Linked DNA regions of Homo sapiens: region 1 is linked to region 2. Evidence: promoter capture Hi-C in human tissues and cell types (Jung and others, 2019). All regions are on one chromosome and are shown on one strand. Each heading gives the region's core, a stretch centred on a gene start or on the middle of the fragment in contact. The rest is flanking DNA. Distances are from core to core; before and after follow the strand shown. Region 1 holds the start of NARF (nuclear prelamin A recognition factor). Region 2 holds the start of ARL16 (ARF like GTPase 16).

Region 1 (2,951 bases), core at 62-2,561, 770 kb after region 2:
AAACATACACAAACACAATGAAGCTTCAGGCCCCTTCACGAGGGTCATGTCATCTCACCAGAACCACTCCATGGTCAGTGTCTCTTATCAGTAAGGAATACTGGTCAATTGGGCCGAAACTGCAAATGAGAGAGTTGTTATCAGCGGTGGAGTCTTTCGAAAGCGCTGGTTTCCGTTAAGCTCTTAGCCAAGAAAACCTAATGGTAGTTAGCCAAGGGTTGGCCTTAATAACAGGTGTCTCACCTCCCATCTGTCATGGCTGAGAACTGCCTTCAAGGCAACCCTGGGATCTCCTTAGCCAGTAGGGGGTTCGTGTAGTCAGTTGGGGGTCTTTGGATTTCATTTTCATTTCTCAGAGGACAGGAAGGAAGGCTCTAACATGGGGAATCCTGAGAACTGCTGCTGTCTGTTAAATACGCCTACAAGTTATTTTTCTTATGTCACACTCTCCCAGACATGTTCTTACTTCTCATTTCTGATTTCTGTAATACACACACACTGATTTCATAAAACGTTTATGAGTCCAACACTTCCATTATAGCCCTGTATCAATGTTTTGCTTAGCTGAAATCAATTTCTTGGAGGAGTAAGTGTTATCTTTACTTTGTAAGCTGTAAGGGCCCAAATCAATGTACTTGGTAAAACTATCCATAGTGAACACACGCAAATGTCAAATGGCCATCATTTAGCATCTGCCCTCGGGCTTCCGGGTCCATCACGTGGTTACTGACAGGCAGGCCGCGCATGCGCGCTGCTACTCCGCCGAGCCTACGTGACACGACGTCAAGTGGCAATGGCGGCGGACGAGGGCTGTGCCCCCGGCCCGCCCCGTTAGGAGCCGCGAGTAAGGCGAGTGTCCAACGCCGAGCTGGCTGACAGAGCCCGGCCGCGGCCTCCGCGGGCCCAGGGGCCTCCAGGCCCCGTGACCACCGGACCGAGCACCCTGGAACGGCCCCAGCTTGGCCTCGGGACAGTCCGCGCGCTCACCGACTCCCTGGTGAACGCCGCTTGGCCGCCGCCGCCGCCGCAGGACCCACGAGAAGCGGAAACCGGCGCAAGGACCCGGTCCCCCCGGCGCCGTACGTGGAGTGAGCCTGCGGTCCGCCCCGCGCGCTCCGATTGGCTCTGGGGCCTGGCCCGCCCCTTCCCGACACTGTCATTGGCCTAGGCAAAGCCGTAAGGGTGGGGAATCCTATTGGCCCAGGGGTGCGGCTTGTCCTCTCCCGGTGCTCTCATTGGCCGAGCGCGGCCGTTGGGGGTGAGGCCGCGTCGGGGGAGGACAACAAAGGGCCGCGGGCGGCGGGCAGTGGTGTCCCAGTCTCCCGGTGCTTCCCTGAGGCTGAGGCGCCCGGCCTCCCGCCCGCCGCGCTCCAGATGAAGTGTGAGCACTGCACGCGCAAGGTGAGCGCCGCGGGCCGGGGAGGCGCGCGCCTGGTGCTTGTCCTGTGGGGCTCTGGGCGGCCGAGGTTGGCGGTCCGGGCCCGCCGCTCGCTCGCTTCAGGGCTCTTCAAGGCGCCCCCGGCCTCGGCACCCTGGGCCCGCTCGGCGTGGAGGCGGCCGGCGCGGGGTCCGCTGCGCTCTGCAGGGCGGGTTCGGTCTTCGCGGTTCTCCCTGAACTTGTCCATCTTTCCCACGCCCGCGAAGCGCGGAAACGCACGGAGACCGAGCCTCTCGTGCCGCGCACCACAGTCCGAGTAAACAGCGGTCGTGGCGGGAATGATCAGAAGCGTTTCGAGAGGGTTTTAGGCGTTTTCGAACCTGCCCCTCTGAGGGTCACCGAGCAGCCGGTGCAGGGGCGGAAGCGGGTGACGGCTGCTGACCGGCGCCTTCCGCGGTTGTCTCCAGGCCATGGCAACAACCGCGCAGCGCACGCAGGGGGGTTTTGTAGCTGTTATTGCCGGAATGGGCTCCTGTGGATGCTGCTCTGTGGCTGGCACTTCTGCGCGTGACGCCGTGGCAGGAGGCTTCCTAACATTCCATGGGTCGTTCATCCCCGGTGGTGGCTGCGTCCTATTCTAAGTACACCTGTGTCCAGGGGAATTCGCCTGTGGGGTGAAGGCTACAGTTGCTTCTGCTTTTTTATTATTGTAAACAATAGAGATGTGTGTGTGTCCTTCAGTACCTGTTTCACTAGAAGGGTTAGAAGGATAGAAGGCCAGGCACGGTGGCTCAAGCCTGTTATCCCAGCACCTTGGGAGGGGAGGCCGAGGCGGGTGGATCACCTGAGGTCAGCAGTTCAAGACCATCGTGGCCAACATGGCGAAACCCAGTCTCTACTAAAAATATAAAATTAGCTGGGTGTGGTGGCGCACACCTGTAATCCCAGCTACTCAGAAGGCCGAGGCAGGAGAATCGCTTGAACCCGGGAGGTGGAGGCTGCAGTGAGCCGAGATTGCGCCCCTGCACTCCAGCCTGGGTGAGAGCGAGACTCCGTCTAAAAAAATAAATAAATAAACTAAAAGAAAGGATAGAAATACATGAGCTTCATTGGTCAGAATGTGCACATTTTCTTAAGGGAGACGAAGTAAAAGTTCATTGATAATGTTCCTTTGCTTTTTTAAGGAATGTAGTAAGAAAACAAAAACTGATGACCAAGAGAATGTGTCAGCCGATGCACCGAGTCCAGCCCAGGAAAATGGAGAGGCAAGTAGATTTTTCAGTTTTGTATCAGCCCAGAGTAAACTACTGCTGCTGTTTTTCTCTTTGGGGGCTCACAGCACCGTGCACATCACTGCTTTAAAGAAGACTGAAGTACGCGGGCATGGTGGCTCACGCCTGGAATCCCAGCACTTTGGGAGGCCGAGGTGGACGGATCACTTGAGGTCAGGAGTTTGAGACCAGCCTGGCCAACATGGTGAAACCTTATCTCTGCTAAAAATACAAAAATTATCCAGGTATGGTGGTGTACGCCTGTAATCCCAGCTACTCAGGAGGCTGAGGCAGGAGAATTG
Region 2 (2,700 bases), core at 1-2,500:
TAGCTTTAAACAAAGCTTTGGGAACAAGCAGAAGCAGAGGGAATCGAGTTTTATGAAGACGACCTGGTGTCACTCGTCTCTGTCCTCATGTGGCCATCAGTTCTCCATACTGGTATCCGCGGCACAGGCCTTATCAAGATGAGACCAACCAGAGGTACGTATAAGTCCAACATAAACACAGACGTACCGGGGAGTGACACAGAGGGCCAAGTCTGTTCTCTGCGGAGCAGCAGCCCTGCCCTCAGCAAGCCCTCTGTGAGCTCCTACCGGGGGCCTGGGAGCGCAAGCACCAGAAACCAGACAGGGTGCCCAGCAGGAAGCAACACTAGCTAAGACCTATTTCCATGAGTAGTATAGTCACTAAATAACCCAAACCCCTTTCTACACACAGCAAGGTTGGGGACTGGACGTCACAGAAATGTAGACACACTTCCCTAAAGGAAGCCCATATAGGATTACAACCCACCAGGAGAGAACGGCAGTTTCCATAGTAACTGGACCAGATGGGGCCCATGCACCCCCCAAGCTCCCGGATGGTGATCTTTCTCTGTGCCACGATGTCAGTAAGATTGGTGCCCACCTATAGGAAAAACCACGATGCAAAAAGAACAATACAACCGCTGTCCCGTTGTGAACTCCTGAAGAGCACCGTGCCCACACCTTACACGGTGGCCTGAACCCCGCAGACCCATTCTCCCTAACGCAGGAACGGCGAGCAGGGACCGACGCCCATCAGTAGCTGGACTCGCTGTGGGGGCGACCAGCCACAGGAAGCCGTTGCGAGGGGAGAGGAAGTGCCCGTGGAGGGCGGCAGGCCCCCTCATCCCGCGCCAATTATCCTCAGCTCGGGCCGTCCCCCGCTCCCGAAGGCTGGCCTTAAGTCACGACCTGACCCGCTGCGCCTCGGCGTGCACTTAGAGGAGCCCGGAGCTCTTCGCCAAGCGCAGAACTGACCCCCCGCAACTCCACCCGCGGGGGCGGACACCTACCGTGGGCCGTGTCGGGGGCGGCTCCCCCAGGTCGCCTTTCCCATCCCGGGAGCTCACCTGTGCGAAGCGGTCAAGGACCCGAGCAGCTAAAGGGTGAGTCCCCGCCCCACTCCGGGTGCCCCCCGCGCCCCGGTCCCGTCCCCGCGCGGAAGGATATCCTGCAGCCGTTTCACCAGCAGCGTCTTCCCGACGCCCGTGGCCCCCAGCAGGAGACACATTCCGTGCTTCGCTCCACCCGGCACCCGTAGCTCGGCGCCGCGGCTCAAGGCCCGCCCACCGGCCACTCTCATTGGATAGTTCTCACCTTCGGACTTCTCATTGGTTCTTAGGGCTCATTGTTCCAAGGGCGCGTCCAATTAGCGCGCAGCGTTAGCGGGAGAGCGGAAGACCCCGCCTCCTCGCGGCTCTAGGGCCGGCGCGGTGACGTGCGCGTGCGCGCACTGGAGGGAAAAGGCGGAAGCGGAAGTCGGGGGGCGCGCCAGCTCGTAGCAGGGGAGCGCCCGCGGCGTCGGGTTTGGGCTGGAGGTCGCCATGGGGCGAGGCAGCGGCACCTTCGAGCGTCTCCTAGGTAACGCGTCCCCACCCGACGGCTCGGCCTTGGTCAGCCCGCAGCCTCCGCCCGGCGCTGAGTCAGCGCGGCCCCGAGGGCCCGAGGGGCGCGGACCGGCCGCCCTGCCCGCCTCTCCCCGGCCCGCTGTCCTCCCGGGTTCGGAGCCGCCGATCCTGGACCCTCGGCGCGGCCGTGGGGTCGGCGTCCGTCGGGCGTTGGCAAATGGGGCTCTGCGAGGGTCCGCGCAGGGCGCCAGGGGCGCTCGGCGACCTCGCTCCTCCGCGGGCCCGGGCATTCGGCCGATTTCCTCTTGACCGACGAGCACCCGGCCGAGTGGGCCACAAGGCCTGAGTCATGAAAGTGGGTGACTCAGTCGGATGTTAGGCTCGCACTTGGGCTTCTGACCCAAAACACTGGGCCTCGAAGGGTGGAGCCGGCAGTGTTCTCTCTGGGACCTTCGAGCTCTCTTGGGGGCTGCGGGTCCCAGACCCACCTTTTGTTCCCACACTGGCTTCGGGAAGTGCCTAATGGTTTAGGAAGGCGTTTTCTCACGTTTTTGGAGGTGAAAGCTGATCCTATCTGAGCCTCCTGGAATTGACGCGTTTTGGGAGGGAAACGAATGTTGATGTGCACGTGCCCAGCAGCACGTGGAAAATGCGTCTAATGTTTGGGGGTAGGAGCTTGGGTGGTCGAATGGGCTGCCCAAGCTTGCCTTTTTGTCAAGTAGGGTTTTCAAGGAGACTTCAAGTGAGACACCTTCCTTGCCAAGGGAACCAGCAAGCAGACTGAGTATCTCAGCCACACAGGTAGTTCAGTGCTTCAGGGATGAATCCAGAGGTTAACTACTGAATCAGTATAGAAAGTGGACGTGGCTTGGCTTGTTAGATCGTTTCTGTATCCGGGAAAGGCGATGTGGGCAGAGCTGGAGCTGCCCCCCCAGAGGGGCCAGTTGTTGGAGACAGCAGTGATGTGGTATGATGACAGGTATGCTGGCGAGTCCTCCTTGGAGCCCCGTTCTGCCCTTATTTCCAAAGCACTTGGCTTGGAGCAAGGGGCCTGGAGTCTACACTGCAGGCCTCTCTAGCCCTTGCCCAAGCTAAGGTCCCATTGAAACCGGGAGCATCTGGGCGAACGGGGACTCCAAGGGACGGGTGATAGGGT

The links. The method cuts DNA at HindIII sites, captures the fragments that hold promoters and counts their contacts. A contact is called where the count stands out against the background at its distance.
Region 1: the fragment with the promoter of NARF here is called in contact with the fragment with the promoter of ARL16 in region 2 in 1 of the 25 tissues and cell types used here (dorsolateral prefrontal cortex).

The regions. Positions count from the first base shown.
Region 1 is chr17:82,457,430-82,460,380 of GRCh38, forward strand. NARF (nuclear prelamin A recognition factor) reads left to right here and starts at 1,312. Exons shown (of 11, transcript NM_012336.4): 1 at 1,312-1,401; 2 at 2,563-2,643. The coding sequence starts at 1,375. NARF-AS2 (NARF antisense RNA 2) reads right to left here and starts at 1,090. Exons shown (of 3, transcript NR_184099.1): 1 at 244-1,090; 2 at 9-119. RefSeq lists enhancers at 651-800, 1,234-2,066 and a silencer at 831-1,650. The HindIII fragment of the contact is 15,922 bases long and covers 1-2,951 here.
Region 2 is chr17:81,682,547-81,685,246 of GRCh38, forward strand. It overlaps ARL16 (ARF like GTPase 16), which reads right to left and starts at 1,251. Exons shown (of 5, transcript NM_001040025.3): 1 at 1,147-1,251; 2 at 990-1,048; 3 at 467-580. The coding sequence starts at 1,207. It overlaps HGS (hepatocyte growth factor-regulated tyrosine kinase substrate), which reads left to right and starts at 1,465. Exons shown (of 22, transcript NM_004712.5): 1 at 1,465-1,557. The coding sequence starts at 1,521. RefSeq lists enhancers at 716-935, 1,153-1,447 and silencers at 1,036-1,115, 1,326-1,385, 1,596-1,695. The HindIII fragment of the contact is 7,981 bases long and covers 1-2,700 here.